2 separate regions of the Homo sapiens genome follow, and region 2 is linked to region 1. Evidence: promoter capture Hi-C in 16 types of primary human blood cells and fetal thymus (Javierre and others, 2016). All regions are on one chromosome and are shown on one strand. Each heading gives the region's core, a stretch centred on a gene start or on the middle of the fragment in contact. The rest is flanking DNA. Distances are from core to core; before and after follow the strand shown.

The links. The method cuts DNA at HindIII sites, captures the fragments that hold promoters and counts their contacts. A CHiCAGO score of 5 or more calls a contact.
Region 2: a contact is called between a fragment that was not itself captured here and the fragment with the promoter of DAPP1 in region 1, in 3 of 17 cell types (total B cells, naive B cells and total CD8 T cells). The highest score is 5.8, in total B cells.

The regions. Positions count from the first base shown.
Region 1 is chr4:99,813,743-99,818,902 of GRCh38, forward strand. It overlaps DAPP1 (dual adaptor of phosphotyrosine and 3-phosphoinositides 1), which reads left to right and starts at 3,085. Exons shown (of 9, transcript NM_014395.3): 1 at 3,085-3,272. The coding sequence starts at 3,172. The HindIII fragment of the contact is 961 bases long and covers 2,729-3,689 here.
Region 2 is chr4:103,073,344-103,078,330 of GRCh38, forward strand. It overlaps SLC9B2 (solute carrier family 9 member B2), which reads right to left and starts at 3,418. Exons shown (of 12, transcript NM_178833.7): 1 at 2,841-3,418. BDH2 (3-hydroxybutyrate dehydrogenase 2) reads right to left here. Exons shown (of 10, transcript NM_020139.4): 10 at 4,249-4,987. RefSeq lists a silencer at 3,078-3,187 and an enhancer at 3,298-3,417. The HindIII fragment of the contact is 645 bases long and covers 3,372-4,016 here.

The DNA.
Region 1 (5,160 bases), core at 1,835-4,334:
GAGAGTGATTTGAATGGCTGGAGGCTGGAATCATCTGGGGGCTTCTTCAATCAAGTCTGGCACCTGGACTAGAATGATTCAAGCTGGGATTATCTGGGACTGTTGACTGGAGCACACACATGAAGCATTCCACGTGGCTTGGGCTTCTAGGCATAACAATTATGTTCCTAAGGGGAACCCCTGAAAGTAACATTTGGAGAGTGAGCCTTCCAAGAGACCACAATAGAAACTGCAAGGCTTCTTCTGACCTAGCCTCAGAAGTGATCCAGTGTCACTTCCACCACATTTTATTGGTCACAAGTGAATCACAGAGGCCAGGCCAGATTCAAAGGAGGGGAGTTAGGTGCTGCCTCTTGACAGGGAGCAGCAAGGTCACATTGCAGAAGAGCATGTGGGTTGGGAGATGTATGTGTGTATGTATGTATGTATGTATGTATGTATCTATCTATCTATCTATCTATCTATCTATTTATCTATCATCTATCTACTATCTATCCATCAAGAGAATTTGCCACAAGTAAGCAAATATTCTATATAATTTCAGGTAGAGCTAAAAACAGAAGTGGTATTTAGACTGTTACAGATACAAAGGATCTTCTGGGGTGATAAAAACCATTCTAAAATTGTATTGCAATGATGGTTGCACGACTCTGCAAATTTACTCAAAATTATTGTACACCTAAGGAAAATGAACATTATGATATACAAATTGTACCTCAATATACCTGTTAAATATACAACTAGCATGCCACAGGCACTGAAGGATAAGAACAGACATGATGCTGGCCTTGGTTCCAAAACAAGGTTTTTTGTTTTTTGTTTTTTGTTTTTTTTGAGACGAAGTCTCACTCTGCTGCCCAGGCTGGAATGTAGTGGCATGATCTCAGCTCACTGCAAGCTCTGCCTTCCGGGTTCACGCCATTCTCCTGTCTCAGCTTCCTGAGTGGCTGGGATTACAGGCGTCCACCACCATGCCCGGCTAATTTTTTGAATTTTTAGTAGAGACAGGGTTTCACTGTATTAGCCAGGATGGTCTCGATCTCCTGACCTGGTGATCCACCCGCCTCGGCCTCCCAAAGTGCTGGGGTTATAGGCATGAGCCACCACGCCCGGCCCAGAACAAGATTCTAAATCCCCTTTCAGTTACACAGCAATAGATGTCCCGGGAGGGATGGGCTCCAGCATTTTGTTGAAACTATCTAGCAAGCCTCCTGCAGCTGTTACCACTGCAAAACTAAGTGTGTAGTTAGTGGAGTGGGCGGGGTGGTAGGGATACTGTGAAAAATTGAGTAAATGACAAAGTGGGACAATGACATCAAAGGAGAGGGCAACAGACAGGACAGCAACATGAGGAAGGGCAAAAGGCAGGAAGATTCAGCCAGAAAAGCAGGACGATCTTAGAAAATTCTGCTACTTGTACTTCCAAAAAAGTTAAGAAAAAGAACAACCAGAATTTGCTAAAAATGGGAATGAAATAGATACTAAAACACCAAATAAAGGGCTCTAGAGAGGGAACAGGAACTCTAGTGCCCAGGCTGTTCCCCTGTCACTGCTGTATGCATATTCAGTATCTCCCTGGCCTGCACTGGCCTCTCTGTTCAAGTGGGCCCTGTCCTTCTCTGTGAGCAAACTGTAGCCAAAAGAATTTAAGTGCTCATTTAGTCAGTTATATATGTATTATCAGAGCTTAGTCTTCAGCAGACTGCCTCCAGACACTCAGGAACTTCCCACTGGCAACCAGTGTTACCCGGGTCTCACCGATCCCGGGTGAACAGTGGTAATAGGGAGGAAGATGAAGGATAGAACCATTGCACAGCAGCCTTTTGCAATCATCTAGTCCTTTAGGAACAGTTCTGCTGTGCTGTTTAGTCCTCAGGCCACACTGTGAGAACAAGTTACAGAGCACTGTGGTGAGTGCTGAATGAGTCAGGGAGTAGAGATAGGAAGAGAGAGAGAGAAAGGGAGAGGGAGAGAGAGACCTGTAGGTACATAGAAAAGGCAGGAAGCAACATATGTCCTTGACTCATTTGATACTGCACTTTGTTCCACTTCCCAAGGATTCAGTCACTGCAATTTACCTTTAGCATTCCAGGCAGATAGAATCCTGCTCTACATATGAATCTGGGCACAAAGCCATGCAGGTGTGAGTAAGCCCATGAAGGAAGTGGCACTCAAAGACTCTAGGAGTTCAGGCCAGGTGCAGTGGCTCATGCCTATAAGCCCAGCACTTTGGGAGGCCGAGGTGAGTGTATCACCTGAGGGTGAAACCCTGTCTCTATAAAAACACAAAAATTAGCAGAGCATGATGACGGGTGCCTGTAATACCAGCTACTTGGGAGGCTGAGGCAGAAGAATCACTTGAACCCTGGGAGGTGGAGGTTGCAGTGATCTCAGGTCATGCCATTACACTCCAGACTGAGTGACAGAGCGAGACTGTCTCAAAAAAAAAAAAAAAAAAAGACTCCAGGAGTTCTAATATGCCCCATTAGGTGGGCACCAGAATGGCCCCTTGTAACTTTTTCCTACCTTCTCCTCTCCTAATTCTTTTTCTGTGGAGGAAACAATAATTGTCTCTGAATCATCCCTATTCGGAGCATTGAGGATATATTAGAAGGTCTGGGTAAACAAGCAGAAATATTGCAAAAGTGCTAAAACATCAAACTTCAGGGTCGAATTTGTGGTTTGCTTCTGCTTTTTCTATCCACTCTAAAGGTGTTCCTGATAGAGAAGCTTCCTCAGTGTTCCCTGTGTTGGTGTGTAAGACAGAAAGAAGATGGGGTAAAAGAGTGCACGCATCCTCCACTACAAACCAGAGGCTGATAGCATTAGGGAGAAGCTAGGGTTTGGCCTCACACAAGCAGTTTGCACTGTTGTCCAATCCCAGGTGGGGTGGTTGCCTCTTCATTTCCTTTGATAGCAACCGCCTGTTGCGTGATGTAGTGTGGGTGTCCTCAGAGGTAGCTACCTAAGTTTGCATACTTCCTGACTGACAGAACACTCCTGCCAGTGCCTCCAGGCCAGGGTGGTGGTGTTGGTGGGAGGAGTAAGTAACCAAGTTTCACTTCCTTGCCTTGGAGACTCAGAGCCATAGCAGGCTGCTGTCTCACAGAGCGAGAAGGTGTCAGGAGCAGCCCAGTTGTGTCTCTCTCTCTACCTCTGTGAAGGGCGCGAATGGGCAGAGCAGAACTTCTAGAAGGGAAGATGAGCACCCAGGATCCCTCAGATCTGTGGAGCAGATCCGATGGAGAGGCTGAGCTGCTCCAGGACTTGGGGTAAGGCAGCAGATCTCCTTTCAAAGTACCTAGTGGGTGGACATTGACTCCGCACTCCCACCTGCATGCTTTGATTAATGACTATCTTCAGTGCCTTGTTGCCCTCTGCCACCTCAACCATTTATTTTTTTCCACTTTATTCATTTGTATCTGTTAAGTATCTTCTTGTCTGGGGCTAATTCCATTGGAAAAGCAGGCATTATTTTTCTAGATGTGAAAACAAGTTGGTTGAGAAAATAGGGAAAAAAATCAAATGTTGGACATTCTTTGAGAAGAGGGACAGAATTGGGATATAGAGGTGATGTTGCCTGGCTTCCTTGATGTTGCTCTGGTTTATGAATAAATGCGCTGTTCAAGAGTTTCTAGCACTGACCCAGGGACAGTAAAAGGACTGTGTTTCTGGTAAGATAAACAGAAAGCTTACCCTACTGTAAGGGAGAGGGACTTTTTCAAAAGACAGAGAATGAGGAAGTTCCTGCAACAGTCTCGCTTGTATATTTCTTTCTCCTGATACTGCATTTGTGAGATTTGATATCGTATGTATGTCCAGAGAGCCAACTTTGAGCCTTTCAGTACCAACAATCCAGGAAGAGGATAAAATTTCTGCTTCAAACAGGTAAGCATAGGTAGGTGGAGTCATTGGAGCTCTGTCTTTAAGAAGGGACCCAGATGACAACTCATCCGGGTATTTAATAAGAAACAAGTATTACACAAGAGAGGAATTGGGGATTTCCCAGAGAAACTGCCTAATGCACTGGGAATATCCCAATGAAGGTGGCTTTGACACCTGTGCATGAGGAGAGGCAAAACCTTTACCTTCTGCCTGGACAAATAGCTCTAACTCTTCATAGCAATCCAATGACATAGGAGCTGTTGTCATCTTCATCTTACAAAGGATGAAAACAAGTACCAAACAGGTTTGAATAACTTGCTTGCTAGTCACACATCAATTACATAGCAAAGCTGGGCATCCAACCTACCACAGGCTATGTCCGAAACCAAAGAAAAACCAAAATAGAGTTGAAATCTCTCTGTGTTAAGGCTGCAGAGATTGTATCTTTTTATGTTGTATTACTGTAAAAGTTTATTAATAATTCCTGTCTTTAGATTATAAAACTGAGGTCTCGGAATTGAACTCTACTTTCATTTGGCAAATCAGATAAAACACCTGGAATTTTCATTAAAGAAAACTCCCCTTATTAGGAAGCCAGAGCTCTAGAATCTCTCTATCCCTCTAGATTGAATCCCCAAACAGAAGAGGTAAAAGGCCCTTCTGTGAGCATCCAGCACAGGTGTCACCAAGTCCAAAAGCTAAAGCTGAACTGTGGCCCTCAGTGTCTTATTGAACTATTAAGTTACAATGCTTTACATGTTCTGTTAACTGTATTCCCAGCCCACTGTAATAGAAAACCCCAAAGGAGGAGATAGAGGAATATATTCAATTCTGGTCCTTTAGTTAAACAAACAATCCTAGAACCCAGAGTCTATGGTTGAGTACTGTGGGAACACACTTAGATGACAAAGATGAATTAGATGCTGTCTCTGTGCCCCACCATGATGTCAACAGCAAGAAGCAACTACAGGTGAAACCCACGGGTGGAATAGGACTGTGTCTTTCCTCCATGTGCAAAGAATAGACATTGAATACAAAACTGAGTCACACCACTTCCCTGCAAAAAAAAAAGGGTACATTCATGGCCAGATTTCCCTATTTCAGAAGGCGTGAACAATTAATAAACATGAGGATGATTTCTATAGCAATGGGCAACCTGCAGTTATCTGGGAAAACTGCTCTACAGTCCTGGTTCTTGACCTTGGCTGTGCTCTGGAACATCTTGACACCCAAACCACAGACTTGACAAATGATTTCAGTATCTCTGGGGATGGG
Region 2 (4,987 bases), core at 2,444-4,943, 3.3 Mb after region 1:
AGGTTCTCAGTCTCATACAGTATTTCTACATAGAACATACAGAAACATTCCAGTTTCTGTATTTGCTTATCAACACTGATCTAATGGTCATTTCCCAAAAGGAGCCCTACCCAGCAATGAGGAATTCAGATCAGGCTCAGAGTAGGGCTTAACACTTTCTTAGACAATTAATTACTAAAATGACTAACAGTGTTTCCCTGAATGAGAACTACCTTATCTGAAAGACTTAGGTGTGTCAAATACATGTGGCCAAGTTACCAAAGGAAAACAACCGCTATTTTATTTGGTTAATTGATTTAGTAATTTCATTGACTCATGAAGGAAAACACTATATAATGAGATAAGAATAAAAGGAAATTACCCCTACATAAGGGACCCAATACTTGCTTTCATCCTTTCTATTCTCTCTCCTCACCAAAGTGAAATATACTTACTAAAAGTTTAAAATATTATTTCTAGGCCCACTAAAATCAGAATCTACAGAGACCGAATCTACCCCAAGTGGGACAGACATGACTTATGGCCTGTCTAAATGCCAAGTGTTCAGGTATGCCAGTAGGACCCTTCTCCCGCCCTAGGGATAAGTCATTATTGGTGTAAATCAATCTCTGTAACACCATTCCTCTTTGCCACTTATTGGCTAAGGAGTGAGCATGATTCATTTCTTGCCATTGGAATTTGTAGGCAAGACTATTGGGGCATATTACATAAGATTTTCCTTCTTAATAAAGACAGAGAGAGAGGAGGAAAATCCTCTCCTCTTTTTGTCTTTAAATGACCAGGTAAAGAGGCAAGGGAAGTTGGGATTGTGGATGGGTTTCTTGGGACAATTCTAGCAGCCATCATTCACCCATGAAGAAAAGTCAAGATTAGCTGAACACAGAAAGCAACATAGAGCCCTGATATTACTGAGCTACTGAACAAACCCTGGACCCACCTACCTTCAAACATCTTCATGTATGAGCAAAGTACATCTGTATTTTTGAAGGGAGTTTTGGCTGAATATCCTGTTACTTGCAGCCAAAAGCATCCTAACCAATATAACAGGTGATTTTGTTGCAGAACCATCCCTGAGAAGCCCTGATGAACAGCAGTGATGAGGAACCTCTGTCTTACAAACTTTAGTTTCTATCTTTCTAGCTTCTTGTTACAGTGCAAAATCATCATAGACAATGAATGATCAGAACACTGCCTTTGTATTGAAATTTCTCAAAAATGTCCAGAAAATAACATTTTATAAAGTTAAAAATTAGTGCCAAGGTTTTCACTGCCATTCTTTTAGTCAACAGAAATTATTTGGATTGTAAGATTATGTATTTCCCCTCCTCTACCCTGAAGTTAAATTGTAATATTTGAATACTGAATGAAGAAAAGTTGGACTTATAAACGTTTGGTTGTTTTCCAAATTTCCACTCATGAAACAAAACAACAACAATAAAATATCACTACTATTGCTGCCTGGAGTTTCATTTCTGCTTTTTCTACTTGAAGAAATTCAAAATCTAACTCAAATGTCACCTTCTCAGTATTTCCTAACTCCAACATTGACAAACTGTCTCCCTCGTTTTCCTCTCTGATGATTCATTCATTCATTCAACAAACAAGAGCTATTAAGCTCTTGTTACGTCCCAGTCCTTGAGCTGAGGATTCAGAAGTGAACGGTCTTAAATAGTTCCTATATTCAGATCTTGTAATCTAGTTACAGGATGATAAAGGATGATAAATGATTCCTAAGCAATCACAATGAAATATGGTTAAGTTTCAACTTTAGACACATAACAACCCCATCCCTTAACAAGTTTCATTTCCTTTTTTTTCTTTTCTGAGATGGAGTCTTGCTCTGTCACCTAGGCTGGAGTGCAGTGGCACAATCTTGGCTCACTGCAACCTGTGCCTCCTGGGTTCAAGCGATTCTTCAGCCTCAGCCTCCGGAATAGCTGGAATTACGGGCGTGCACCACCATGCCCAGCTAATTTTTATATTTTTAGTAGAGATGGGGTTTTACCATGTTGGCTAGGCTGGTCTCGAACTCCTGACCTCAGGTGATATGCCCACCTCGGCCTCACAAAGCCTTAACAAGTTTCTCTGGTGTGATAGGCACAAGAGTAACAAAGATGACTAAGATGCAGTCTGCCCTTTAAGGGATGGTCAGAGACTGATATGTGTTTACCAAAATCGTTTACTCTTCTGCCTGGGTCCATAGTACATTTCCAGTCTCCCTTGCAGGTCAGTGTGGCATGTGACTGAAGTCTGGTCAATGGCATGTGGACATAAATAGTATGTGATTTCCAGTCCTCACCCATAAGAAACAATCCTCATGCAATCCTCTAGTAGCTTTTCTTTTTCTGTCCGTTGCCTGGAAACTAAGGACTCCAAGGTCTTAGGGGATAGCAAAGCCATAATATAAAAGGAGTTTGGGTTCCTGAATAATTGAGTAGAAGGCCAACAGCTGAACACGTGAATGGACTTGACATGAACGAGAAATAAGCCTGAACTATGTTTAGTTACTGAGATGTTTTACTTTATCTCTTACAGCAGCTACTGCTGTCTTAAGGTTATATTCTTCAGTCAATAGCATACGATGATTCTTAGCACCTCGAGGATGCTAACCCAGTCCACAAAGGCAACACCCCCTCTGGTTAATCTGAGAACTAAAATAAAAGCAAGCAAGAAAACCCACGCCAACACCTTACAACAGTAAACAGACACGCGCCCGTCACCGGGTGTACAAACAGAAAAGGCTGGGCCCCTCGCTCGCGTCTCCGGTCCAGCAGGCCTACAGGGTACCCGCCGCTGGCGCTGGGTTTATTTTTACCCTTAGTGTCTCTGGGGCCTCTCACCTGGCAGTCTCCGGCGAAGTCGACCAGGCTCCGTCTGAACGATTAGGAAAGGGGCTGTGGGGGAGGCGGCGGAGCCCGGTCTAGCCACCGCGCTCTGGGGTTCCCGATTCGCGCATCTTCCCAGGCTGAGCCGGGAGGCTGCGTTGACTGCAGATAAACGGTCTCAGGGCGCGGCACCGCGTGTAGTCGGCCCCGCCTTTCGCACGAACCCGCTGGGCGACACCGCGCAGGGAGGTCCGACCCGTCGGCGCCGGTACAGGCTCCGGAGTAAGCATGGGTTGGTCCGGGGCCCGCAGCGGCAGCCCCGTGTGCCCTCCGCCGGGTTTCAGGTCCGGCGGCGCGGGTGCAGAGCCGCGTGCGATGCCTGGTGCGCGTGGCTTCCCCCGGAAAGGTGGCGCCAGGCCGACCATGGGCCCACGTCCCGGGGCCTCGGAGCGGCACCGCGCGGTCTTTCAGCTGCTTATCCTCCCTGGGCGGGTCCGCAGGCTTCTGGGGCCAGGACCAGCGAGCTCCCGGGAAAGCTTCCCGGAAAGCTTACCCAGAGAGCGCGGACCCAGGCGCCGAGTCTTCCCGGAGATGACGAGACACCGCGAGAGGAGCACAGCGCAGGCTCCTCGGGACTCCGCGGCGCAGGCCGGGCAGCCCGTTACTTGTTTTATCGTTCCCGAAACCAACCTCTAAGTTGTCTATCAGTCCTCCACCTTTTAGCTGTACCTCTTAGAAGTGTCTTCTCAGCTGCGGTGGGAAGATAGGATTCTTTCTTAAGGTGACCAATTAAATGGCCGGATAAAAGACTTGTTCTGCCCCCCTTTATCGCTTAACACCTGCCCTTCTTGTTGTATTTTAGATTTTTAACCCTTCTATCAGCAGTGTGATTCTATTTCATTTAATTCTCATTTCATGTTTGTGTCTTCCTTTTCTCTGTATTTCCTCTTGTGTGTGTTAAGACGCGCGCACCCCTTACCTGTTTTTCACTCCTGTAAGCAAGTGCCAATCTTAATCACCGCTTTTCAAGCAAGGGAGATTATCCTCAAATTTCTCCACCAGTCAGAAACCATTCATTCTTGTCTCTCAGGTCCTCTTTTGTGATGAACCTATTGGATAGGTTCCATCCAATACCCTTCTTCAGATCATCTGAAATGATTATTTTCCTAAACGGAACTCTTCCTCTCCTAAAGCTTGTAAAAATTTCTAGTGACATTCAGCTTCCTCTTACCACAGGAATGACATATATTTTTCCTTTTAGTCATATGTACTTCATTAATATATCACCTGATTTGATTAACATGACTTTGGAGAACATTGAATTTTTTGGCTAGATTTTACTTCGTTTTTATTGCTGATAGTGTTTATAAAAATGTTTTATAGTTTATGGTCGGCTGTGAGAAAGACTAACTCAGATCATTTGTTAATGTTGGAGCCCATTTTGTAGAATTCGTTGTGCATTTATTTAAAATTTATTTGTTCATAGCTATACATATATTATACATGTATACCTGCTCACAGCATAAAGTATTTCATGACATACTTGTAAGAGTCAGTGTTCTATGAATTCACTAGAGAAGTTACAGCATTTTGATTATGATACACGAAAAGAAACCCAAGTCATTTAGCTTAACTCCTTAATTTCATAAACCAGAAAACTAAAATCCAAGATAGATTGGGTGACTTGGTCTAGATCACAAACCAAAGTTAGCCATAATTCGGTAGTGTAGTGCCCGGTCCAAAACCTCATAGATAATCTTATAATCAATGGACTCTTTCTGAATGCTAGTCAAAATGTCCTTTTGTGTGAATTTTAATGTACCGTCATCAACTGCATGATATTCTTCCCCATACACAAAGTGTTATCTTTTTGTTGTCCATTTCAGAATTTTCCATGTTAATATTAAAGTTCTAGGAAAAAAGGCTAAGAATCACTGCACATTTATTGAGTATCTCAGTGTGCATCATACCATTTGGTCATTTGAGGTTGCAACAAGTAAAAAACAAACATAAAACCCTTAAATTAAAATAAAAACAAAAAACTTTGCCCTGACAATGTTACAGAATTAACATCCATAAATTTACTTTTCTTGAAAAATTTATTTTCTTTAATTTCGTTTGTTTCCTGTTACATAATTTATATTTAAATTTACATTTATTTA